Regions from separate parts of the Homo sapiens genome. Here regions 2, 3, 4 and 5 are each linked to region 1. Evidence: promoter capture Hi-C in 16 types of primary human blood cells and fetal thymus (Javierre and others, 2016). All regions are on one chromosome and are shown on one strand. The core of a region is centred on a gene start or on the middle of the fragment in contact, and the rest is flanking DNA. Distances in the headings are between cores, read along the strand shown.

Evidence for each region. The method cuts DNA at HindIII sites, captures the fragments that hold promoters and counts their contacts. A CHiCAGO score of 5 or more calls a contact.
Region 2: a contact is called between a fragment that was not itself captured here and the fragment with the promoter of CCDC89 in region 1, in 1 of 17 cell types (naive CD8 T cells). The highest score is 5.1, in naive CD8 T cells.
Region 3: a contact is called between a fragment that was not itself captured here and the fragment with the promoter of CCDC89 in region 1, in 4 of 17 cell types (naive CD8 T cells, naive CD4 T cells, total CD8 T cells and 1 more). The highest score is 7.0, in naive CD8 T cells.
Region 4: a fragment that was not itself captured here is called in contact with the fragment with the promoter of CCDC89 in region 1 in 2 of 17 cell types (naive CD4 T cells and total CD8 T cells); the score reaches 6.6 in naive CD4 T cells.
Region 5: a fragment that was not itself captured here is called in contact with the fragment with the promoter of CCDC89 in region 1 in 6 of 17 cell types (naive CD4 T cells, total CD8 T cells, naive CD8 T cells and 3 more); the score reaches 13.7 in naive CD4 T cells.

What each region holds. Positions count from the first base shown.
Region 1 is chr11:85,684,909-85,690,332 of GRCh38, reverse strand. It overlaps CCDC89 (coiled-coil domain containing 89), which reads left to right and starts at 4,138. Exons shown (of 1, transcript NM_152723.3): 1 at 4,138-5,424. The coding sequence starts at 4,203. The coding sequence ends at 5,327. RefSeq lists enhancers at 4,342-4,841, 4,842-5,343. The HindIII fragment of the contact is 2,434 bases long and covers 3,524-5,424 here.
Region 2 is chr11:85,922,485-85,927,908 of GRCh38, reverse strand. No RefSeq gene overlaps it. Among named protein-coding and RNA genes, the nearest start is that of CCDC83, 70 kb to the right of the region's middle. The HindIII fragment of the contact is 1,656 bases long and covers 2,504-4,159 here.
Region 3 is chr11:85,903,140-85,908,563 of GRCh38, reverse strand. All of the region lies in intron 7 of CCDC83 (coiled-coil domain containing 83), which reads right to left. Among named protein-coding and RNA genes, the nearest start is that of CCDC83, 50 kb to the right of the region's middle. The HindIII fragment of the contact is 3,588 bases long and covers 554-4,141 here.
Region 4 is chr11:85,886,270-85,891,693 of GRCh38, reverse strand. CCDC83 (coiled-coil domain containing 83) reads right to left here. Exons shown (of 11, transcript NM_001286159.2): 5 at 5,327-5,424. Among named protein-coding and RNA genes, the nearest start is that of CCDC83, 34 kb to the right of the region's middle. The HindIII fragment of the contact is 3,373 bases long and covers 1,132-4,504 here.
Region 5 is chr11:85,867,246-85,872,669 of GRCh38, reverse strand. The region is part of intron 2 of CCDC83 (coiled-coil domain containing 83); the gene reads right to left. Among named protein-coding and RNA genes, the nearest start is that of CCDC83, 15 kb to the right of the region's middle. The HindIII fragment of the contact is 720 bases long and covers 2,132-2,851 here.

The DNA of each region.
Region 1 (5,424 bases), core at 2,889-5,388:
CTAAACTGTAATCATCCTGAGAGTTGGGACTTCATTCTTGGATATAATAGTTTCTCAGTCTATGTGAGATGAATGAATGAATGATCAAATGGACAAATGAAATGTGATCTAAGATCATGGGCTTTGGTATCAAAAAGATCTAGATTTGAATTCTCGCTCTATCACTTATTCTCTGGGTGGCATAATTTGCTTAACCTCTCTCAACCTTGGTGTCTTTGTTACCTGTAATTGATAAAATGTGGATAATAATGCCTACCCTTCAAGAATATCATTAGAATTAAGTGAGAGATGTACAAATAAATGCCCACTACCTAGAAGAGCTCTGTAAATGGTAGCTTTAAAAGGGAGGGAGGCATGGAAAGACTTAAAGATAAGTGGAGACGACTCATTGATCACCACAAGGGAGAGAATTGGTCACCTTGGATCTCTGGGAAGGGAATATATGGGATACTTTTAGGAGGGGAGCTAGAAAAAAAATGATTGAGCAAAGAAGACAACCACGGCAGAAAGGAACCAAAGTGATTACTAAACTAAGTTATTTGAGGACAGTGATCGTATTTATTTTATTAATATATTCTTAGCACCTAGCATTGCAAATAACCTTGCAAATGTTTACTGAATAAATGAATGAATATTGATTAGGATCTTATCAGATTCTTGGTCTTGATAAGTAATCTATAGATGTGTGTTATTTTAAATAATGTAAATATAAATTTAATAGAAATGTGTATTAAAATATATTTGCAAAAAAGAAATATAAGCTTTTTCAAATGTGGAAAATTTAGCTGAACATGGTGGTACATGCCTGTAGTCCTAGCTGCTTGGGAGGCTGAGGCAGGAAGATTGCTTGAGCCCAGGAATTCAAGACTGCAGTGAGCTATGATGACACTACTGCACTCCAGCTTGGGCAACAGAGACCCTGACTGGTAAAAAAACAAATGTGTATGTATCTTTTTTCCGTATTTTTCTGAATTCTTTTCCTCCTTTCAGGAAATATATTTTGTGAATTCACTTTATGATATCAGACAACCATATAATCAACAAATAAAATTTTCAATGTTTGTAAGACCCTTTTATTTAAGAGGACCATTCTAATTTTCTAGTCATTTGCCTTGAAAATAACTAGACGAACTCCATTTACGCATATGAAGCTTGAAATTTAAGGAAAAGGACAAGAGAAATGTGGGAAAATTACAAATAAGTTTAATTCACATTTTTAAAGTCTTTGGAATTCACTTTCACAAAACTTCAATATCCTACTGTTTATGTAGTTGTTAAAATTTCAGCTTAGGAAATTTCCCCAGTCTTCAATCTTGGTTTCCATATATAGACAAGAAATTCAGGATTTGAAACATGAGACCTTGATCTTTGACAGTGAGGGAAGAACCTGAAACTCTTCTTTCAGATTTGTTTCGCTCCCAGTGAAATCTGAAGCATTTAAAAATTCATCTCATATCTATAATGACACCCAGGGTTTTTCCTTATCATCATGACTTGGGAGATAGTAAATCTGATCACCAGAAACTGTGACCACAAGAATAGTCAACTCTTTTCCCTACCCTTAATTTTCACAGGATTGAAATCATCTGAATTTTAAGTTTTGTATTTTGCCTTTTTCAGTTGTATTTCTAACATAAGACTTTTCCATGCTATTAAAAATTACCTATAAATGTAATAAGTTCTAGTGGCTGTACAATATTTTTTGTATGAATATATCATAATTTTTGTAACCATTCCCTTTTTTTTTTGAAAACTTGGGTTTCCAACTTTTAGTTGTTACAAACCACACTACAATGAAAAGTTTTGAGCAAAATGTTTTCTTTCAGATTATTTCCTAAGCAAAGATCTCCGCAGAAGAATTACTAGTTCGGAAGCCATAAAAATATCTTAATTTCTCAGTACCTACTGTCAACTGACTTTCACCAACAGTTTAAGAGAGTGCCTATTTCAATACTCCTTTCTAGTCCTGGCTTGTCTTAAGAGAAAATTTTTTGACTAATTTGATACGTGAAATTATATCTTTTTTTTTTTTTTTTTTTTTTTGAGACGGAGTCTCGCTTTGTTGCCCAGGCTGGAGTGCAGTGGCGCGATCTCGGCTCACTGCAAGCTCCGCCTCCCGGGTTCACGCCATTGTCCTGCCTCAGCCTCCTGAGTAGCTGGGACTACAGGCGCCTGCCACCACGCCTGGCTAATTTTTTGTATTTTTTTGGTAGAGACGGAGTTTCACCGTGTTAGCCAGGATGGTCTCAATGTCCTGACCTCGTGATCCGCCTGCCTCGGCCTCCCAAAGTGCTGGGATTACAGGCGTGAGCCACCACACCCGGCCGAAATTATGTCTAATTTTAACTTGTATTTATTGGATCACTGTAGACGTTCAGTTCTTGGCCATTTTTGTGAATTTAATTGTTTATTTTTTAGATGTTAATGTTTCGTTGATATGTATAAAATATTTATTTAAAAAAGGTAGTGTCTGGGCTGGGTGCGATGGCTCATGCCTGTAATCTCAGCACTTTGGGAGGCTGAGGCGGGTGGATCATTTAAGGTCAGGAGTTCAAGACCAGCTTGACCAACATGGTTAAACTCCGTCTCTACTAAAAATACAAAAATTAGCCAGGTGTGGTTGTATGTAATTGTAATCCCAGCTACTCAGGAGACTGAGGCAGGAGAATTGCTTGAGCCCGGGAGGCGGAGGTTGCAGTGAATCGAGATCGTACCACTGCACTCCAGCCTGGGCGATGGAGGGAGACTCTGTCTCAAAAAAAAAAAAAAAAAAAAAAAAAAAGTAGTGTCTGTCATATTAGGGATATTTTTCTCAATTTGATTTTTACCTTCAACATCCACTTAATACACATTTATCTGAATCTCCCCCATGTGCCAGGCACTAGTCTAATCATCAAGGATGAAATAGACACAGTCCCTGCCCTTAAGGATCTTACAGTCTAACAGAGGGAAGCTGGCAGATAAACAGTGACTGCAATAAAATTTTCACATCCTCCACCAGAAGTACAAATAGCTATAGCGGATGCACTAAAAGATGTGAGTGACCAATTGGACATGTAGGGGCCAGGAATAGGCTTCAGAGACGATTCTTAACTAAGAATAAAAAGCTTTACTAGAGTGACAAGGGACAAAGTAGGAAAGGCATTCCAAGTAGAGGAACACCTAAAGATAGGGCGAGAGAGCTGGTTAGTGGATTTGGGTTTGGCTTCAATATTTGGGTTTGAGGAGTAAAATGTCAAGAAAATCCAGTGGAAGAAGGGGCTGGAGAGACCTCAGAAGTCACATAATTTAAAAAATTATACATAACTTTTTGAGTAAGCTTTCCCTTTCTGATCTTACATAATGTTTAAGATAAAAAAAAAATCCTTCCTAGCCCCAGAGATTTGATGTTTACCTTCATTTTCTTCTAGTTTCTGTTTACATTTAACTAATCTATCAGGAGTTGACTTTGGCATATAATGGCAAGCTTCATTTGAATCTTATTTTTTCTGTTTTAATGTTTATCTGTGTGGTTCACTAAGCTTCTTTCTGTAACCTTATTTTGCTAATGGGTAAAAACAGGGGGTGTTAAATATCTAATAAAGAGTATTTATGCCCAGGTGGGGACAATGCTAAGAACAACAAAAGAAATTTCACTGGTGTTTTCTATTTTAATACTTAAATACCAAAAGGGAGCTGTGCCAAACATCACGGGTGCAGATATGCAGGCTTTTAGGGTCCTGGCTCTCAGAATACCACTACTACTTTGTATTCATAGACTGAAATTTTTTGAGGAGCCAACCATGTTTCCACAAACAGTAATTTATTCAAACGATAACTGAAGAGGGGAGAGGGAGGATAAATATATCATTGCCTGCTTCATTTGTTTACTACTACCAGAAATTAGGTGGAGTCAGGCTTCCTCCCCTGATGCTGGCTGGAGATTGAGTGGGGTTGGCATCTCTGTGCTGTACAGGCCAGACACTGAGACAGTTGACAACTGAGAGCTGTGATTGGTTAGAAAGGCAAAAGTAACCCGACCAGATTGGCTCTGGACTCCCCCAGATTCCCCTGTTGTTACTTCATAGCATTCTGAAGACCTGTCCACCAATTACAGGGCTCCTTACTGGAAAAACCAACTGCTGGGGAGTGCCAAGAGTCCCTAGCAACACCCTGCAGCGTTTGAAATCTGAGGGGAAAAGACTGTAGTCAGCCCTTAGTGGATGAGAGCGCCTATGCTCCAGAAACAGCAGGCTCCCAGGATGGACACCCCGCCCCCTGAAGAACGCTTAGAGAAGCAAAATGAAAAACTGAACAACCAGGAAGAGGAGACGGAGTTTAAGGAACTGGACGGTCTGAGGGAAGCCTTGGCAAACCTCCGGGGACTGTCAGAGGAGGAGAGGAGCGAGAAGGCTATGCTTCGCTCCCGCATTGAAGAGCAGTCCCAGCTCATCTGCATCCTGAAGCGGAGGTCAGATGAGGCCCTGGAGCGCTGCCAGATCCTAGAGCTGCTCAATGCAGAGCTGGAGGAGAAGATGATGCAGGAGGCTGAGAAGCTCAAGGCCCAGGGTGAGTACAGTCGGAAACTAGAGGAACGCTTTATGACCCTAGCAGCCAACCACGAGTTGATGCTCCGCTTCAAGGATGAATACAAGAGTGAGAACATCAAGCTGAGGGAGGAGAATGAGAAGCTGAGGCTGGAGAATAGCAGCCTCTTCAGCCAGGCTCTGAAGGATGAGGAGGCGAAAGTATTACAGCTCACAGTCCGGTGTGAGGCCCTCACTGGGGAGCTAGAAACGCTGAAGGAGAGGTGTGCTCAGGATGCCTGCCAGGCACAGGCGCGCGAGAAGGAGCTGCTGGAGCTACAGAGCCAGCAGGCCTGCACCCACACCAAGGAGACAGAACAGCTGCGCAGCCAGCTGCAGACCCTCAAGCAGCAGCACCAGCAGGCTGTGGAGCAGATAGCTAAGGCAGAGGAGACACACAGCAGCCTGAGCCAGGAGCTGCAGGCCAGGCTGCAGACCGTCACTAGAGAGAAAGAGGAGTTGCTGCAGCTGTCCATTGAAAGGGGCAAAGTGCTTCAGAACAAACAGGCAGAGATCTGCCAGCTTGAGGAAAAGTTGGAGATAGCAAATGAAGACAGGAAGCATGCGCTGGAGCGGTTTGAGCAAGAGGCAGTGGCTGTGGACAGCAACTTGAGAGTCAGGGAGCTTCAGCGCAAAGTAGATGGGATCCAGAAGGCCTACGATGAACTCAGGCTGCAGTCTGAAGCCTTCAAAAAGCACAGCTTGGATCTTTTAAGCAAGGAGAGAGAACTCAATGGCAAACTCCGCCATCTCTCTCCATAGGGAAGTTTCTGCTTCCTCTGGCCTGCAATTCAGAATTCAAATATTTGCGTCTTAGCATTATGGCAAGAGTAAAGATGATATCCCATTTATTATACTT
Region 2 (5,424 bases), core at 2,082-4,581, 240 kb before region 1:
AATCTCAGCTCACTGCAACCTCCGCCTCCCTGGTTCAAGCGATTCTGCTGCCTCAGCGTCCTGAGTAGTTGGGATTACAGGCACATGCCACCATGCCCAGCTAATTTTTGTATTTTGAAGGGTTTTTCGTGTCTCTATCTCCTTCATTTCTGCTCTGATCTTAGTTATTTCTTGTCTTCTGTTAGCTTTTGAATTTGTTTGCTCTTGCTTCTCTAGTTCTTTTAATTGTGATGTTAGGGTGACGATTTTAGATCTTTCCTACTTTCTCCTGTGGGCATCTGGTGCTGCAAATTTCCCTCTAAACACTGCTTTAGCTGTGTCCCAGAGATTCTGGTAGATTGTGTGTTTGTTCTCATTGGTTTCAAAGAACTTATTTATTTCTGCCTTAATTTCGTTATTTACTCAGTAGTCATTCAGGAGCAGGTTGTTCAGTTTCCATGTAGTTGTGTGATTTTGAGTGAGTTTCTTAATCCTGAGTTCTAATTTGATTGCACTGTGGTCTGAAAGACTGCTTGTTACGATTTCCGTTCTTTTGCATTTGCTAAGGAGTGTTTTACTTCCAATTATGTGGTCAACTTTAGAATAAGTGCAATGTGGTGCTGAGAAGAATGTATATTCTGCTGATTTTGGGTGGAGAGTTCTGTAGCTGTCTGTTAGGTCCACTTTGTCCAGAGCAGAGTTCAAGTCCTGAATATCCTTGTTAATTTTCTGTCTCATTGATCTGTCTAATATTGACAGTGGGATGTTAAAGTCTCCCACTATTATTGTGTGGGAGTGTAAGTCTCTTCATAGGTCTATGAGAACTTGCTTTATGAATCTGGGTGCTTCTGTATTGGATGCATATATATTTAGAATAGTTAGCTCTTCTGGTTGAATTGATCCCTTTACCATTATGTAATGCCCTTCTTTGTCTTTTTTGATCTTTGTTGGTTTAAAGTGTATTTTATCAGAGACTAGGATTGCAACACCTGCTTTTTTTTTTTTTTTTTTTTTTTTTACTTTCCATTTGCTTGGTAAATATTCCTCTATCCCTTTATTTTGAGCCTATGTGTATCTTTGCACGTGAGATGGGTTTCCTGAATACAGCACACTGATAGGTCTTGCCTCTTTATCCCATTTGCCAGTCTGTGTCTTTTAATTGGGGCATTTAGCCCATTTACATTTAAGGTTAATATTGTTATGTGTTTGATCCTGTCATTATGATGCTAGCTGGTTATTTTGCCCATTAGTTGATGCAGTTTCTTCATAGTGTCGATGGTCTTTACAATTTGGTATGTTTTTGCAGTGGCTGGTACTGGCTTTTCCTTTCCATATTTAGTACTTCCTTCAGGAGCTCCTGTAAGGCAGGCCTGGTGGTGACAAAATCTCTCAGCATTTGCTTGTCTGTAAAGGGTTTTATTTCTCCTTTGCTTATGAAGCTTAGTTTGGCTGGATATGAAATTCTGGATTGAAAATTCTTTTCTTTAAGAATGTTGAATATTGGCCCCCACTCTCTTCTGGCTTGTAGGATTTCTGCAGAGAGATCCGCTGTTAGTCTGATGAGCTTCCCTTTGGGGGCAACCCGACCTATCTCTCTGGCTGCCGGTAACAATTTTTTCTTCATTTCAACCTTGGTGAATCTGACGATTACGTGTCTTGGGGTTGCTTTTCTCGAGGAGTATCTTTGCGGTGTTCTCTGTATTTCCTGAATTTGAATGTTGGCCTGTCTTGCTAGGTTGGGGAAGTTCTCCTGGATAATATCCTGCAGAGTGTTTTCCAACTTGGTTCCATTCTCCCCGTCACTTTCATATAGTCCCATATTTCTTGGAGCCTTTGTTCATTCCTTTTCATTCTTTTTTTCTCTAATCTTGTCTTCTTGCTTTATTTCATGAAGTTGATCTTCAGTCTCTGATATTGTTTCTTCTGCTTGATTGATTCGGCTATTGATACTTGTGTATGCGTCACAAAGTTCTCATGCTGTGTTTTTCAGCTCCATCAGGTCATTTATGTCCTTCTCTAAACTGGTTATTCTAGTTAGCAATTCTTCTAACCTTTTTTCAAGGTTCTTAGCTTCCTTGCATTGGGTTGGAACATGCTCCTTTAGCTCAAAGGAGTTTGTTATTACCCACCTTCTGAAGTCTACTTCTGTCAATTCGTCAAACTCAATTCTCTGTCCAGTTTTGTTCTCTTGCAGGCGAGGAGTTGTGATCCTTTGGAGAAGAGGCACTCTGATTTTTGGAATTTTCAGCCTTTTCGTGATGGTTTTTCCTCCTTTTCATGGATTTATCTACCTTTGGTCTTTGATGTTGGTGACCTTCAGATGGGGTTTTTGTGTGGACGTCCTTTTTGTTGATGTTGATGCTATTCCTTTCTGTTTGTTAGTTTTCCTTCTAACAGTCAGGCCCCTCTGCTGCAGGTCTGCTGGAGTTTGCTGGAGGTCTACTCCAGATCCTGTTTGCCTGGGTATCACCAGTGGAGGCTGCAGAGCAGCAAAGATTGCTGCCTCTTCCTTCCTCTGGAAGCTTCATCCCAGAGAGGCGCCCGTCAGATGCCAGCCAGAGCTCTCCTGTATGAGGTATCTGTTGATTCCTGCTGGGAGGTGTCTCCCAGTCAGGAGGCACGGGGTTAAGGAACTCACTTGAGGAGGCAGTCTGTCCCTTAGCAGAGCACAAGTGCTTTGCTGGGAGATCTGCTGGTCCCTTCAGAGCTGGCAGGCAGGAATGTTTAAGTCTGCTGAAGCTGTGCCCACAGCCGCCCCTTCTCCCAGGTGCTCTATCACAGGGAGATGGGACTTTTTTCTATAATCCCCTGACTGGGGCTGCTGGCTGCTGCCTTTCTTTCAGGGATGCCCTGCCCAGAGAGAAGGAATCTAGAGAGGCAGTCTGGCTACAGGGGCTTTGCTGAGCTGTGATGGGCTCTGCCCACTTCGAACTTCCCAGTGGCTTTGTTTACACTGTGAGGGGAAAACCTCCTACTCAAGCCTCAGTAATGGCAGATGCCCCTCCCCTCACCAAGCTCCAGCATCCCAGGTTGACTTCAGACTGCTGTGCTGGCAGCAAGAATTTCAAGCCAGTCGATATCAGCTTGCTGGGCTCCATGGGGATGGAATCTGCTGAGCTAGACCACTTGGCTCCCTGGCTTCAGCCCCCTTTCCAGGGGAGTGAAAGTTTCTGTCTTGCTGGCATTCCAGGCACCACTGGGGTATGAAAAAAAACTCCTGCAGCTAGCTCGGTGTCTACCCAAATGGCCATCCAGTTTTGTGCTTGAAACCCAGGGCCCTGGTGGTGTAGGCATCTGAGAGAATCTCCTGGTCTGCAGGTTGTGAAGACCGTGAGAAAAGCATAGTATCTGTGCCAGAATGCACCATTCCTCATGGCACAGTCCCTCACGGCTTCCCTGACCCCTTGTGCTTCCCGAGTGAGGCGACGCCCTACATTGCTTCAGCTCGTCCTCCGTGGGCTGCACCCACTGTCTAACCAGTTCCAGTGAGATGAGCTGGGTACCTCAGGTGGAAATGCAGAAATCACTCACTTTCTGTGTTGATCTCACTGGGAGCTGCAGACCAGGGCTGTTCCTATTCGGCCATATTGCCAGCCACCATATAATAATATTCTTAAAGTCCTAGCCTACTGACTTGAATATCTGGGTCATTGGTGGGCATGCTTTAATTGTTTGCTTTTCCTCCTGATTCTTAGTCTTATTTTCCTGCTTCTTTGCACTGTACACGCGCGTGCACACACACACACACGTATAAAGTTTTGTATGCTCAACATTGTGAATACAAGGAGTATAGTGTCTGGGTTGGTATTCTTTGTTCCCCAGAGAAAAAAGAATCTATCCTCTGTTAGTTATATTAGGTGAGGAGAAAATCACCTCAAAGGAATCAAGAATTGAGCTGGGGGAATCGAGAGGCTCTGGTGAGGAGTGGGTGCCGTGTGTAGGTGGTGAGTGAGGAGGGAGAGGGAAAGGAAAGAGAGGAGAGCGAAGAAAAAAAATAGAGTTGAACTGGGTCAGGGCTAGTTTGCCGTTTTACTTAGATTCAGTCCACCTCTGCTCTGAAATCTCTTGAGAGTGATACCTTTTAGTTTCAGGGCCCACATCTACAGAATGAATTATTCCAGGTGCATCCATGTCTCTTTTCTCTATTGAAACTCAGTCCCTAGGTTATGTCATTTAAGCTTTCATGGCTTTAAATTCAGTCCTGGGCTGTTGATTCCCAGATCTGAATCTCCAGCCTTTACCTTTCCTAGCAGGAAACAAAGGGCACATTCAAACAGGATACCTGGAGAAAATTTAACAAAGGCAATATATACAAAGGTGTGGGCAGCATCAAGGAAAACCAACAGGAATGGTAACACTCCCTGGGGCTATCAACAGATGGGAACTGTTCCACTCCTGGGTCTAAAGGGGGAGAGGGAGGGAGTACTTACCAGACCTAGAGAGTAGCTATACTGATTCAGTATTTCTCGTCTGAGATGATTGGGACCAGAAGTGTTTCAGATTTCAGATTTTTTAGGATTTTGGAATATTTGCATATACGTAATAAGATATCTTGGGGGTAGACCCAAGTCCAAACGCAAACTTCATTTATATTTCAGATACACCATATACACATAACCTGAAGGTAAGTTTATATACTATTTAAAATTTTTTTTTGTGTATGAAACAAAGTTTTTACTGCAACCCATCACATGAGGTCAGGTGTGGAATTTTCCACTTGTAGCATTGTGTCAGTGCTTAGAATGTTTCAGATTTTGGAACATTTTGGATTTTGGATTTTCACATTAGGGATGCTCAACCTTTGTTAGGTGAGCCTTCCAACAGGAATAGTGGCCTTTGATAGAGGAACCCTGCTAATCTACATGACCTGTTAGAGAAAGAGCTGGGGGAAGAAATCTCACCCTTCTCACTTTCTTTGATCTCCTGCTAGAAACTCCTATTAAACAAACTCAGTAGAAGGTTAGAAGCAAAGGACATTGACGCAGTCCATAAAGGTCACCCTTTGAGACACAGAGATAAGGGTAGAGAGTGGATCTGGGATGGTCAAACAGAAGCACACATACATGCAACAATTTTATACTCATGAATGACTAATAGGTATCTCAATAGATGGATCTGTTAGGGAATGGAGTAGAGTGGAAAAGAGGCCTGTGAACCAGGTGCCAAATTAAAGATTATGGAGAAGAGTGATGAGAAGGGTTAGAAATTTATAGCAAAGAATAGTAGTAGAGGGTGATATATATACTGAGCTTCAAAAGGCATGTTTTTACATGAGACTGGTGGAATTGTGGTCTAGAAGAGGCATTGCATTAGTGAAAGCATGTAGCCCCACAGAAGGTGGTGGCAGAGAAGAATCAATACCAACCACTAGAGAGAGAGCCACAGGGGAAGTGAGCTCTTTCTGGGGAAAGCCAGGTGCCAGTCAAAACCAGAGAGTAAAAGAAA
Region 3 (5,424 bases), core at 1,098-3,597, 220 kb before region 1:
TCTATCTATCTAATCATCTAGTCTATGCTGTGTTGCCCAGGTTGGAATGCAGTGGCGTGATCTTGGCTGACCACAGCCTCCACCTCCCAGGTTCAAGCGATTCTCCTGCCTCAGCCTCCACGGGTGCCTTCCACGGGCGCCCGCCACCATGCCCAGCTATTTTTTTTGCATCTTTAGTAGAGACGGGGTTTCATCATCACACCTGGGATTATAGGTGTGAGCCACGGTGCCCAGCCATAAATTCTTATTATGGGCAAGGTTCAGAGCTAGATGTAGAAGGATGCAAGGGTGAATAAGGCATGGCTCCTTCCCTCAAGAGAGCTTATAATCCAATGATTAAAACCACAAATAATTATAATATAAAGCAATACCAGTCCCATGGAAAAGGCTCAAATATTGCTGGTGGCTTGAAGTTAGAAAGAAAGGCATATATTATTTATCTGCCTCAAACAATTTAGTAAAACCGTTTAAGTCCAGATTACTAAATTACAAAGCTAGGGTTTGGTGTTTTAGGATCTCATATGTTGAGAGATAATTATTTTGATTACAAGCTTGAATGCCTTAAGGAAAATTTATGATTTTCAAATGTCAAAGGATGAGGAAAAAAAACTATAGTTAGACACTGTAAACAGAAGGAATTAATGCAACATTTGGGAGATGTTTGACCTAAGGGCCTGGCATGCTTGGGAGGTAGCACACACAGTTCTTGGTCTCTTTCGAAAGCTGGGAATGGGGGCCCTTTTGAGATGTTGCATCCACTCTTAGAGGCTAAGGCTCTCCTATGACATCACGTATCCCTTTAGAATAGTAATGTGCTCCTCAATAGCTATCTCCCTCGGCCTTTTGAAATGTTAGGGAATAAAAACTACTTCTTTTTCATAACCCTACAAACACCTTTGGATTTCTGGGGTCAGAAAGTAAAAAGGAGGAAGAAGTGGAAGACCACATTTCCCTCCCTGCCTCAGCTGCCCCCCAGCAAAATGCCCAAGAAATATACATAGAAACTGGGAGAGATAATTTAGTTAAAACGTTAAGTTGGGGACCTAGGATCCTGATTAAAATATATGTTCTTGAAATTTTCTCCTGAAAGATCCAAGTTAGCCTTATGTCTCCTCATACTTGAAATCCTGATGGTAATTTCCTTGATTCCCTTTGTCTAGTTTCTCCAGCTTTCCATTTGTTAATCTCAATCATTTGGAAATTCCAGTTTCCTTCATTTTCTAATAAGCATGCTAAATAAAACCAGATAATTGAAATCATGCAGTGTTACTTATAACAACTAATACATGAAAAAAAGAAAATAGTTATAAATTAAAACAACAACAAAAAAAGATAATCATGTAACAAAACAGCTGTGTAGCCTTCCCAGTGATTTATATTTTTGGTTATTGCTGAGAGATAAATGGAGAAATATTTTCATTAGTTCCATTATTAAATATCCTTTGTTACTCATTCTAAACTTTCACCAAAGAAATTAATTAACATATATTGTTCTATTTCCAGGCAATTTTCAATTCTTGTGATGGTACCAGAAATAGTTTTAATTACTTTTGCAAGTAAACTTAATAATGTTAAAAATGAATATTTATTAAAACAAAGAGAAATTAAATCTATTACATTTCCATAAAATGATTTGTTATTTATTTAATTTAATTTAATTTAATTTAATTTAATTTTTTGAGACAGGATCTCATTCTGTCACCCAGGCTGGAGTATAACGGCCTGAACATGGCTTACTACAGCCTCAACCTTCCAGGCTCAAGTGATGCTCCTATCTCGGCCTCATAAGTAGCTGGGACCACAGATGTGTGCCACAATGCCTGGCTACTTTAAAAAAATTTTTTTTTTGTAGAGATGTGGTCTCACTATATTGCCCAGGTTTGTCTCAAACTCCTAGGCTCAAGCAATCCTCCTGCCTTTGGCTCCCGAAGTGCTGGTAGTATAGGTGGGAGCCACCATGCCCAGGTGATTTGTTCTTTATTATAAAGCTCTTTTTGTTCCTGATGCCATTAAACTTAGACTTTTTTTTCTGTCATTTATTTCCATTGAACTGTGAGAAGCAGAAACATAATTTCTGGCTTCAGTAGGAAGAGTCAAGTCATGAAAACAGCCCTTCTTATTAGTCAAATGCAAATTTTTTGTAGTCATTTTCCCTAAACCTAAGATTTATGACATCTCATGAGATTAAGTGAATTGAGGCTGGGCAAGGTGGCTCACTTCTGTAATCCCACCATTTGGGGAGGCTAAGGCTGGTGGATCACCTGAGGTCGGGACTTTGAGACTAGCCTGACCAACATGATGAAACCTCACCTCTACTAAAAAATAGAAAAATTAGCCAGGTGTGGTGGTGGGCAGCTGTAATCCCAGCTACTTGGGAGGCTGAGGCAGGAGAATCGCTTGAACCTGGGAGGTGGAGGTTTCAGTGAGCCAAGGTTGTGCCATTTCACTCAAGCCTGGGCAACAGAGTGAGGCTCCGTCTCAAAAAAAAAAAGAGAGAATTGTTAAGTTATTTGATTAGGATCATACTTTGTATTTAATAAATGTATAAGAAGTAAGTTTCTCCCTAATACTCTTTTTTTTTTTTTTTTTTTTTTGAGACGGAGTCATGCTCTTGTCGCCCAGGCTGGAGTGCAGTGGCAGGATCTCAGCTCACTGCAAGCTCCACCTCCCGGGATCACGACATTCTCCTGCCTCAGCCTACTGAGTAGCTGGGACTACAGGAGCCCGCCACCATGCCTGGCTAATTTTTTGTGTTTTTAATAGAGACGGGGTTTCACCGTGTTAGCCAGGATGGTCTCGATCTTCTGACCTCGTGATCCACCTGCCTCGGCCTCCCAAAGTGCTGGGATTACAGGCATGAGCCACTGCGCCTGGCCCTCCCTAATATTCTTTAACTGTTGAGCTCACCTTGAGGTTTTAAAATTGTTAATACCTTTTTTTTTTTTATTTTTTTGAGTCTGAGTCTGGCTCTTGTTGCCCAGGCTGGAGTAAAGTAGCACAATCTCTGCTCACTGCAACCTCCACCTCCCGGGTTCAAGCAATTCTCCTACCTCAGCCTCCCATGTAGCTGGGATTACAGATGCATGCCACCACGCCTGGCTAATTTTTTTTTTTTTTTTTTGAGGCGGAGTTTCACTCTTGTTGCCCAGGCTGGAGTGCAATGGCGCAATCTCGGCTCACTGCAAACTTTGCCTCCTGGGTTCAAGCAATTCTCCTGCCTCAGCCTCCCGAGTAGCTGGGATTACAGGCATGCACCATCACGCCCGGCTAATTTTGTATTTTTAGTAGAGACGGGGTTTCTCCATGTTGGTAAGGCTGGTCTCGAACTCTTGACTTCAGGTGATCCTCTCACCTCAGCCTCCCAAAGTGCTGAGATTACAGGTGTGAGCCACTGCGCCTGGCCCACGCCTGGCTAATTTTTGTATTTTTAGTAGAGATGAGGTTTTACCATGTTGGCCAGGCTGGTCTCGAATTCTTGACCTGAGGTGATTTGCCTGCCTCAGCCTCCCAAAGTGCTGGGATTACAGGCATGAGCCAACAACATGCCCAGCCTTAAAAATTGTTAATACCTTTTTAAAAATTGTGAATTCATCCTAGTTAGTTTGGGGAGATAGTATGAACTCCTATTCACCATGACTTAATAATGACAATTTAAAGATAATTGTCAGTTATCATAGAAGCCATATGAATGTTTAAATTCCTTGTTTCCTAGACTCACTATACTCAGTCAAATAGGGAGCAAGAAAAAGGAAAGAGTAGAAGCTGACGGTGACATTTTTATCTTGAGTGTCTGGGCAGATGGTAAAAAGGAAATGGAGGAGAAAATTTTTGAAGAGAAACTTAATGAGTCCTGCTTTAGGTACATTGAATTTGAAATGCCTTTGGGACATCCACGTGAAAATATTTGGCAGGGAAAAAAAATGTAGTTCCAGAGACGAGGACACACATCAGTTTGTGCTGAAGATGTACATTTGAGAATCATATAAAAATAACTCATTAACAAGAACTGCATGTAGCTGAAGTGCGTTCTCTCAAAAGGCAGTGAGCTTTGTTTTATAGATGGCATTGAATCACAGGTTGGGTGGCTACTTTGTATCTAAAGGGAATTTCAAGTAGAAGGGTAGATTGGGCTAGATAAGCTTAAGGTACTGCTGTCCTCATAAACCAGAAACAGGCTACTAAGAAACAGAATTCCATGACTCTCTATTACCTGCTAGAGTTCAAACTTCTCTGAATGGCACACAATTTGGGCCAGACCTACTTCTCCATTTATTATGATAGATGTACCGTACAATGTAAGATGTCAGTAATAGAGGAAACTGTTGTGGCGTATATGAGAACTCTCTTAGTATCCTTGCAATAATTCTGTAAATTTAAAACTGATTTTAAAAGTTTATTTTTTTAAAAAAGCAGTCAAGAACAAAACCCCTTTCATGCTCCCTGGCACCTCTGAACTGACGGGAGAGTCATTAATTGAATGGTTTTATGCAGAAGATTGACAAGACCAGGTTTATGTTTCATTTATTTTATTTTTTTAATTAATTTTTTATTTTATTTAATTTTTAAATTTAATTTTTTAAATTTAATTTGATTTTTTAAGACAGAGTCTCGCTGTGTTGCCCAGGCTGGAGTGCAATGGAACAATCTTGGCTCACTACAACCTCCGCCTCCTGGGCTCAAGTGATCCTGCTGCCTCATCCTCCCAAGTAGCAGGGACTACAGGCAGGTTTATGTTTTAGAAAGGTGACTCTGAGGCAGTGTGAAGGAGAAATGGAAAGATTCCAGTCTAGTCAGGGAAGAAAACCAGGTAAGACACAATTGAAAGATCTGGGTGAGAGATAATAAGGCCTGAACTAGGACCATGGCAGAGAAGGAGAAGTGGTCAAAGTAGAACTGATGGGACTTGGAGGCCTTCTGAATATGGAAAGTGAAAAGAACATTTCTAAAATAGTTGGCTCTTTGGCTGGGGGTGGTGGCTCACGCCTGTAATACCAGCACTGTTGGAGGCCGAGGCGGGTGGATCACTTGAGGTCAGGAATTCAAGACCAGCCTGGTCAACATGATGAAACCCCATCTGTACTAAAAATACAAAAAAAAAAAATTAGATGGAACGTGGTGGCATGTGCCTGTAATCCCAGCTTCTTGGGAGGCTGAGGTACAAGAATTGCTTGAACCTGGGAGGCAGAGTTTGCAGTGGGCCGAGATCATGCCACTGCATTCCAGCCTGGGTGACAGAGTGAGACTCTGTCTCAAAAGTAAATGAATACATAAATAAAATAAAAATAAAATAGTTGGTGCTTGAACAACACATGCAGATTTTTTGTATGTTTGTTTGTTTTAGATTGCTCTGCCACCCAGGCTGGAGTGCAGTGGTGCACTCTCAGCTCACTGCAACCTCTGCCTCCTGGGTTCAAGCGATTCTCC
Region 4 (5,424 bases), core at 1,569-4,068, 200 kb before region 1:
GATTTTATAGGCAAGAAAATTAACATTCAAAGAAACAATGTTACTTTTTTGTACGGAGTCTTGAACCTAATTTAAAAAAATTCACTGTTAGTGTACAAAGAACTTTTAAGAATCCCTGTCCTGTGCCCCAGTAAAGGACAAAAATAAAAATGCTCTGTGACTGTAATTATCTAATGACTTGTAATAACCCCTCACCTTCTCATTCCTGGGCTTATTCTAAGGTTCCTTTTCCTTTTATTGAGGAGAAGTAACCTTGGCCTGGATATGTTAGTGACTGTTTTCTATACTAGTATCCCAATATCCCATTCTAGCTAAAGTTCAGGGAAGCAGCTCTAAGTGTTTTCTCCTCCTCGCCCCCTGGGTTTCAGCAGAGGCTGCTGAGTAAGGCAGGTGACCGAGGAACAGTTTGTGCTGGGGCTGACTGGTGACCCATGAGGTGGTATGGACAAAGGCCATTGGTCATGTTTGATAAGGTGCATGATGGCACCAGATGTCTTTAGAAATGGGCTGGAGAATACTGCAAGGACTGTTCTGTGGGAAGTAGAAGAGAAGGGGGACAGGTATGCAGAGCAAAGCAGAGGTGCCAATGAGAGGGACAGTCACAGATCAGGGGAGAGAAATGTGGGGAGGAGCCATGCCTAGAACCACCGCTGATATCATTCTGTCTTCAGTCTTCCCTTTCCTCATTTGTGTTACACCCAACAAGCATTACTCTTGGGGAGTCAAGCAACTTAATTTTTGTCTCTTTCCTTTAAAACTCATACTGTGAGGCTATTGACTTCTGCTCAATAAAATATATGGTAAATCCTATGACTTCTGGTTTCTTTGTGGTAACAAAAGGTCCTCCAATGAGTAATTAGTATGTTCAGAATATTGCAACAATTTAAACTTCTTTCAAAGTTATGCCAATCCCCTTTCCTAACTTGGGCCTGCTGCCATTTTCTTTGCCTTGAGCTTCCATGATTCCTCTCTCAGTGCTGAAGGGAAGAGGGAAACATGGAAAACGGTAAGAAAGCTCTCACTTGACTGATACTGTCTCAAGCTCATGTCTACTTTCTGGACCTAGCTGGCATTTAAGGCTGACACATTGTCTCATGGGAGTGTTTTAGTAGGTTCTTTGGAGGACAAGCTTCCCCATTTCAAATGGGATTTCATCTGCATTCCCTTGATCCAGGGCAAGTACTGTCCTTAGAAGTTGGTAACAACTTTTCTGTTGGTCCCTGGTTTTCAATTCTGCACTCCCCTCCCACACATACAAAATCCCTGTTTTTCTGTTGGGGACCTATCACCGGCCCCCAACACCCTAGTCAGCTGTCTCCAGCAAGATTTCACATGACTGTTCCCCAACTCTCTCTCATAACAAGTTGACAAGAAACACTCCTCCATTCTTTGCCCTGACAAACTCGGGAGTGCAGGCCCAGCCCAGGGCAGCAGCCACCTCTTCTGTGTTCTGCTGTCAGTGCGGTTAGCTCCTCAGCCACTTACTCCCTAGATTTCTCAGGGATGAGTCATAAACTAGACCTGAATGCCCAGACTGCAGGGGACACATACTGAACCATCTGAGAAATCTCTCTGAAGACCTTTCACCCAGATTTGAGATGGAGGAGGAATTACCTTTTACCTGCTCCTCGGTGGGGGAAAGAGTAGGACTGATAGCACACCAAAAGCTCTTTCCAAAAGTTGTCCCCTAATTTCTAACAACCTTTTCCTGGCCTCTCTAACTTCTTGTATAGACTGGAATTCGATGATCAAAGGTGCGAAACTGGTTTTCTTCTTCATCAAATTGCAAATCTATGTGGTGGTATCTCATCTCATTTTGCCACCTCAGCGTAAACTGAGACTTTAAAAAGTTTTAATATCCTCTTTCACTTACAGCAACCTCCCAGCCCACAACAATAGCCTGACTTGATCTCTCTTCCTTGCATGTAAAGCAGCCTAACTAACGCAAACCCCATAATCATTGGAGGAGAATTCCAGGAAAATCATGAAAGAAGGCAGCCTGTGTAGAAGGTAGGAGAAAAAGAGGGGATGATGGTAGTAAGCCTTCAGATAGATTGATTTAGGAGTCTTGCTCATATTCATTGTGTCCAGTTAGTGGTCCCCAACATGTTCTAATAGTTCCCCTGGTGGAGTGGCTGCTGCTACCTGGATGGTTAAGACAAGTCCCTAAAACTAATGGAAAATAACACAAGCCCATAACAACCATTTTCTTATGGCTGCGCCCCATGGCTTGACCAGCAAGTAATTCAATATATAAATGTTTTTACCACCCCAAAGTTGAATACAACCACATGAAAATTTTTAAGTCAAAGAAATCATCCTAGTTAATAATTCATTAATTTAAGACAAGGTCTCTCTCTGTCACCTAGACTACAGTGCAGTGGTGCAATCTTAGCTCACTGCAACCTCTGCCTACTAGGCTCAGGTCGTCCTCCCACCTAAGCCTCACAGGAGCTGGAACTGCAGGTGTGCGGCACCACACCCAGCTAACTTTTGTATTTTTGGTAGAGATGGGGTTTCACCCTGTTGCTCAGGCTTGTCTCGAACCCCTGAGCTCAGGTGACCCATCCACCGTGGACCCCCCAAAATGCTGGTATTACAGGCGTGAGACACCACGCCTGGCCCAATCATCCAAACTTCTGATCAAGATAATGGGTTAAGTTTATATGAGAAGATCACTTTTCCTACTTTAAAAATGTGAAATAAATACTGGCTAAAATATTTGAAATTTTGAAAATGTACCAGAACAATAACTTTTTAAAAAGTATTCTACTGGTTAACAAATGCATAGGCAGATCAGTGAATCAGAATAGATAGTAGAGAATAAGATTCAGATATATATGAGAAATAAAAGTATAATAAAGTTAGCACTTCAAATCAGTAGGATAAAAATTGATGATAAATGATGTTGGAACAACTGGAAAACCATTTGGTAAAAAAATAAAGTTGGATCACTCTCTCACACAAAAACAAAGACTTAAATATAAAAACAAAACCATAAAAATTTTAGAATAAAATATTGGAGAATTCATTCATAATCTCATAAACGTAAAATCAAAGACTGATAAGTTGGGCACTTTAAAAGCACATCATTTCTTCATTAAAAAACCCACAAACAAAAAAACTAATGACAAATGGGAAAAATATTTGCAATTTATATCACAGTTAAAGAGCTAATTTTTTTAAAATGTAAAGAGTGCCACAACACATTAGAAAAATGGGTGACAGATATGAACAGATGGTTTATGGAAAAGGAAATTCATATAGCTCTTGAAGTTATGAAAAGACACATTCAGTGTCACTTTTAATAAAAGAAATGGAAATTAAAACTACAATGAGATACCATTTTCGACCCATAAGACTGACAAAGAACAAAAATTTGGATACCACCCCCTGTTGCTGAAGATGTGGGAAAATAGGTATCCTCATGCATACTGTTAGAAGTACCACTTGGTACAACCTTTATGGAGGGCCACATTTATCACAGTAAAATAGTCTGTTTCACACAACCATTTCTTTCAGAGATACACATAAGTGAAATGACATAAATACAAGAATATTTGTCATAGGAAAATGAGACATGTGTAAGGATAGTCATTGCAGCATTATTTGTAATACTAAAACACTAGAAACAACCTTAATGCTTATGTGTAAGAAACTGGTCAAAAAATTATGGTTACCAGCCTGGGAAACACAGTGAGACCTCTACAAAAAATAAATAAAATTAGCTAGGTATGGTGGCACATACCTGCTGTCCCAGCTACTCAGGAGACTGAGATGGGAGGATTGTTTGAGCCTGGGAGGTTGAGGCTGCAGTGAGCTGTGTTCATGCAATTGCACTTCATCTTGGGTGACAGAGTGAGACCGTGTCTCGAAAAAAAAAAAAAAAAAGGTACAATAAAACCATGCAACCACTGGAAGAATGAGGCAGTATTAAGATATACTGATTTAGAAGGATGTTCATGTTGTTACATGAAAAGCAAGTAAGACATCATATTTATAGCATGCTATTTGTGATATATATATATATATATGCATAGAATATTTCTGACTGCTAAATAAGAAACTGGTAGTAGTGGGAGAGGATTTGAGTGCGGACAGAGGGAGTAGCAGGCTGGCACTCTTGTTCTCTTTTCAGAAGAAGAACCTTTTGACAAATTGGAACTTCATGCCCAGACTGATATGGGGCCAAGTTTACACCACCACTGTGGTGCAGAGGCCCTAAGCTGAGAAACTTACATACAAATTGGTCCACAAGCAGAGAGCCCTGATAGGGGGACATGGGAACCACCCACAGGAACCCCTCCACAACGCAGGGCACTATCTCCAGCTGAGTCCTGGACTGTTGTCCACCCACAGCAACTCTTTTGGGCCAGATTTCCCCCATTAATTCTGTCCTATGATTCTTCTGTGTCTGGGTCTCTGGTGTTCTTTTAAGCTGCTATGCTTGCCTCAGTAACAGACAGCTGGCCCTCATCGTGTCCAGATCTAGTCCTGGTAAGCTTCATTGCTCCTGACGGCATCCTACTCTATAGCCTCTCCACTTCTCATCTCATGTTTGTTCCCCAGTTTTTCCCTGGTTACAACTTAATTGACTTTGACGTTTCTCCATGATGATTCTGGCTATCCAGCCTGGCTAAGCTGACTTAGCTTGCCCCAGGTGAATTCTCTTTCTAATATAACCTGGCCTCAGGACACTCCTATCTTGGTGGAATTGCTTCTGTCCCAGTGTGGAAACATACAGACCCCATCCATTGAATGAAGATTCTTTCTTCTTTTTTTTGAGACAAGGTCTGCTCTGTCACCCAGGCTGGAATGCAGTGGCACAATCACAGCTCCCTGCAGCCTTGACCACGGGGCTCAACTGATCCTCCCACCTCAGCCTCTCAAGTAGCTGGGGCTACAGGCATGAGCCACCATGCCCAACTGATTTTTTAATTTTTTGTAGAGATATGGTCTCACTGTGTTGCCCAGGCTGGTCTCAAACTTCTTGGCTCAAGCGATCCTCCAGCCTCAGGCTGTTGAGATTACAGGCATGAGCCACCGCATCCAGCCAGAAGCGTCTTTCTTAAAGTCACTTGGTCACAGGGCTTCTGCACACTGCCCCCCACCCGCCCATTTCTTTATTTCCCCTTCTCAGTTTCACAGGTGGTCCTGGGATCATTTTTCTGCTTCCTCCCTCCACCTTTACCCTTAGGCTCACAGCTGCTTGTGCTGACAGCAGAGTAATGAATGATTCAGGGAGTATGCACTTTTTTCTTCCATCAATGTATGCCCTACTAAAGATGTTTTTTACTGAACTTGAACTAGTTTTGTTGCAACTGACCTGACATTTTCTCTGCATTCTCTTTAACTGTGTTGATGTCATTTTGTAAGGAGGTAATGAGTTTAGCATGTCGTTCACTCCCTACATTCTTGTACTCC
Region 5 (5,424 bases), core at 1,242-3,741, 180 kb before region 1:
AGAGAGATAGAAAAGTGCAGAAAGACTTTCTTATAGGCTATTTGATAGCTATTTGAGGTGTTAAGTATAGTGTATCTCTTTAAACATGTGCCAGGCATGGTGGCTCACACCTGTAATCCCAGCACTCTGGGAGGCCGTGGCAGGTGGATCTGGGTTTTTGTTGTTGTTGTTGTTGTTGTTGTTTTGAGATGGAATCTCGCTCTGTCGCCCAGGCTGGAGTGCAGTTGCATGTTCTCGGCTGACTGCAACCTCTGCCTCCTGGGTTCAAGCGATTGTCCTGCCTCAGCCTCCCGAGTAACTGGGATTATAGGCGCCTGCCCCCACACCCGGCTAATTTTTCTATTTTTTGTAGAGACGGAGTTTCACCATGTTGGCCAGGCTGGTCTCAAACTCCTGACCTCAAGTGATCTGCCCGCTTCGGGCTCTCAAAGTGCTGGGGTTACAGGTGTGAGCCACCGTGCCCGGCCAGCAGGTGGATCTCTTGAGGACAGGAGTTCCAGACCAGGCTGGCCAACATGGCAAAACCCTGTCCCTACTAGAAATACAAAAATTAGCCAGGTGTGGAGGTGAATGCCTGTAGTTCTAGCTACTCGGGAGGCTGAGGCATGAGAATCGCTTGAACCCAGGAGGCGGAGGTTGCAGCAAACCAAGATCATGCCACTGCACTCCAGCCTGGGTGACAGAGTGAGATGCAGTCTTAAAGTAAATAAATAAAATAATTTTTAAAACTTTATAGTATATCTTGTATCACTATAACCTAATAAATCTTATAACTTTAAATCTGAGACCAAAATAAGGCAACAGAAGTGTGTTACCTAAACCCTTTGGCTCAATTAAAAACAAAATAAAACAAAAACAGAAATATAGTACCTCTGTAGTAGAGTGAAGAGTAGTTAAAGAATGAGAAACTCTGGTTTTAAGTCTTGCCCTTATCACTTCTTGTCTACATGATCTCAGGCAAGTCAATTCCCTGGGCCTAAATGTCCAAGCAGTCAAATGGGATAAAAATACCTAGCTCTGCATATTATCGTAAGGATTAAAATAAGAAATCATATGTGAATGTTTCTAGCATAAAATAAATGCTTAGTAAATTTCAGTTGAATTAAACCTTATATCCTTAGCCCTTTCCCCCAAACATCAATTATATTTGTGACATTGTATACTCATTAGAGAGAAAAACTAGGCTCTTTCTTTCCCAATAATGAGAAAATGCAACATTAAAAAAAAATCCTTTACTGGTCAAAAAAAAGCTCGTTTGGATACTATGAAACTTGAATTTTAGAGCTGGTTTTCCAGTTCTCTAAGGATATTTAACCTCCAGAAATAAGAGGATTGATGGAGATGAACTCTATGCTTCCTTTTCAGTTACAAAATTCTGCAATTTAAATGGACCAATATTCCCTTTCAAACAGTCATACATACAATGTAGATTTAAAGAGCTGAAAGGTGCCCAGCATTGTTTTAGGCATTATAGAGATTGTTTGTTTGTTTGTTTGTTTTTTTGAAATAGAGTCTTGCTCTGTCACCTAGGCTGGAGTGCAGCAGCATGATCTCGGCTCACTGCAAACTCCCCCTCCCAGGTTCAAGCGCTTGTCCCACCTCAGCCTCCCCAGTAACTGGGATTACAGGCACACGCCACCACACCCAGCTAATTTTTGAATTTTTTGCAGAGACGAGGTTTCACCATGTTGGCCAGGCTGGTCTTGAAATCCTGGTCTCAAGTGATCCACCTGCCTCAGCCTCCCGAAGTGCTAGGATTATAGGCATGAGCCACTGCGCCTGGCCTACAGAGATAATTTTGAACAACACCTTCATGATCCTTGCCTTCAAGGAGTACCTTTTACTGGATAATAAGAAGTAAACACATAAACATATTGAAACATATTGTTTACACATTATGATAAATACCATGGGGAAAATAACAGGATATAAGAAGGACCATAAATGGAGGGGACTACTATAGTAGATAGGGCAGCCTCCACAAAATAATAAGAAAATAAGGCTCTGTGCTGCCCAGGCTGGGCTTGAACTCCTGGGCTCAAGGAATCCTCCAGCCTCAGCCTCCCAAGTAGCTGGGGTTACAGATGTGCACCACGACACTTGGCTCATCTTTGACTTCTTACCTAAAGCTTACATTTGTGCAAAAATTTTGAAGGAGTGCCTTTTCTACCTCCCGTTTTTCAGGAGATTAAAAAAAAAGTATTATAAATGAAAATTATCTGAAAAGAACCTATGCAAATGTGCAAATTACTGACATAATTTCTGCAGTTATAAATCTATTAATACTACTTCTTTACATGGGTAGAGCAGGCAAATGAATCTCAAGATGTGGTCTTCATTGGTTAAACTGAGTCTACAGATGGGCTCGTTAATAGACCAATTCCCTGGCTGCAGCTGAGAGCTTTCCTTGGTGATGACTGAGCATGCAACGATTGGGCTGGAGACCATGTGCAGCCCCAGCCCCATTGCATGGGTCATATTTATACTAAGCAAATTATTTGCTGTTTATCTGAAACTCATATTTAATTGGGCATCGTTTATTTCTATTTGCTACAACTGGCATCCCCACACTTAAGCCCACCACCCCTCCCTCAGAGCATTTAGGAGCAAATGGCCTCAGGCTTTGTCTCTTGTCCATTTGTGGAGTGAGCAGTTCAGGATGATGTGAGTGGCAGCAGCAGGCCTCAGTGGGGAATTCTGAGATGCCCTAAATGCTTTGGCAGCTTCACTGGCCCGCTTGTGGAGCTTATGGTAGCTGTGGGTCTAATTTAGCTGAGCCTGTCTTTGAAAGCCACTTCAGCCTTCTCTGGCTTCATGAAAAGGTGTGTTTTACCAGGAAGCAGATGAAGCTTAACTTCAGAACTCAACACTATTATGGGGACTTCAAGCATCATTGTTCCTTATACACTTTTTTCCTTTTTAATATCTCCCCCATCTACTCAGTGCCCTAGAATCTGACATGTCACACTAGGTGCTGAAGCAAGTGGGGTGATAATAAAGCAATATACATTAAAGCAGTTTGAAAAGGTTATGGCACTATTCTAAAGCACAGTGATATTAAATTGTTAGTAAGACAATATGTCACCTTTCCCCCACTCTCTATATTGTTAAAATGTTAGTAATGTGTCAATGTTCCCCCCACCCATGCAATTTCATTGAAAATTCTGGGAAGGAAAACAAATAAATTTGAATTCCAAAAAAACTATATTTTTGTGTTTTTTTCTTTAAACCTATAACCATACCCACATGTTTTTATATCTCTATCCATATTCATTGTAGAAAACTGGGAGACAACAAGTATAAAGGAGAAAATAAAAACTACCGTTACTTAGAGATGATCACTTTATAGATTTAGTATTGGTTTATAGATTTAGTATCAGTTCTTCACAAACAACCATAGAAGTTCATGACCTTATGTTCCGGGAAAGAGTTCCTATATCCATGAAATTACCTGATAAAAGGGCAGGATTGCTTTGTTACAAATGTTTTCAGAATATTTGAACAATTTATACTCACCAGTGGGTAAGAAAGAGCTTGTTTATTGGTGGGCATTTCATCACTGAGTGTTAGTACGTTAAAAAATTTGTTTCCTGTATCAACAGGCAAAAATAACATTGTATTTGTTTTCATGAGTGTGATTTTGCTTTCAGACAAGATCCGACAACATTTACTCAACAAAGAAACTCTGAGCTCATACTATAAGGCTGTGCTAGATACTAGAGGTACAGAGATGAGTAAAGAATAGTCTTCAAGGAGCTCACAGTTTGTTGAGGGAGAATGAAGCACACATGACCTGCCATATTTTTTCCTTCACCTCAAATATTCTAACTGCCTTATTCATATAAAAACACAAATCTGGGCTGGGCGCAGTGGCTCACGCCTGTAATCCTAACATTTCAGGAGGTTGAGGTGGGCTGATCCCTTGAGCCCAGGAGTTTGAGACCAGCCTGGTCAACATAGGGAGACCCTGTCTCTATAAAAATAAACAAACATGGCTAACACCTGTAATCCCAGCACTTTGGGAGGCTCCCAGCACTTTGGGAGGCCAAGGCAGGAGGCCAAGATCAGGAGTTCAAGACCAGCCTGGCCAACATGGCAAAACCCCATCTCTACTAAAAACACAAAAAATTAGCTGGGTGTGGTGGCACATGCCTGTAATTCCAGCTACTGGGGAGGCTGAGGTGGGAGAATTGCTTGAATCCAGGAGGCGGGGGTTGTAGTGAGCCGAGATCATGCCACTGCACTCCAGCCTGGGTGACAGAGTGAGACTCTTGTCTCAAAAACAAACAAATCACTGATCCAAATAAACTTGACTTTCAAAAAAATCTATATCATAATCTCCATTTTTTCACTCACGACCATATTCTCACCCGTTTCTATATCTATATCCATACTTATTGTAGAAAACGGGGGGCAAGACAAGTATAAAGGAGAAAATAAAAACCATCATTATTCAGAGACGATAATTTTATAGACTGAACATTGGTAGTATCAGCTCTTCACAAACAACCATAGAAGTTCATGACTTTCTTTTCTTGGGATAAATTTGAAAAAAGTTCAGTTGCTCAAAAACCATGAATTAACTATCTACTATGTGCTCACTGCTTTGTTAGGAGCTGAGAGAGATATAAGAGGCGCCAGGGAACTCCTGGACAATCCTTCCTCAGATGGTGAGAGGAAATGTCTTGGCTATGTGTCATGTGACAACAGTTCTGTCACCGAGGAACACATGGAATGCATAAACTGTCATCAGTAGAGCATGGTACAGCAAGGCCTTGGCTGTTCCAGTCCATGAGATTATTTATTTAGTTTTACCAAATACAAAAGAACAAGGGTATGAGATGTTCAGTTTATAACTTGCACTAGATCATGAGAATTTTTAAACGTTTGCCTTTTTGTAAACCTTTGTTAAAGAGGAGAAAGACTGGTTTCTGGTCCACCCAAAAGAGAGAAAAACAGCTGTTAACTGGATGTCACCAGTTACACCATGGGAGCAAATTAGAGACCAGGTTACATTCACAGAGCTTGGCTTTTTGTCCACCTCTCCTAAGATGAGATGAACAAAGTTTTCAGTTATGTTGAGAAATGAGTATGAATAGTATCTAGTTATTAGTTAATGTTATTTCAAGTAGAAAATAAAAGGAAACAGGTGAAAGCCTCTTCTCTCTTGGTGTTCTGATCCCTTCACTCAATCCTAAAAAGTTCATACGAATATATTGGGATCTCCAAAGAAGGAGACAGATTTTCCCTGAATGTTGTTAAGGACAACATACATCTTTTATGGTACATTTTTTAAAATAAATCCTTCTTTTAGATTTTAAAATCTAAAATCCTTCTTGGCCAGGTGAGGTGGCTCATGCCTGAAATCCCAGCACTTTGGGAGGCTGAGGCAGGAGGATCGCTTGAGGCCAGGAGTTTAAGACC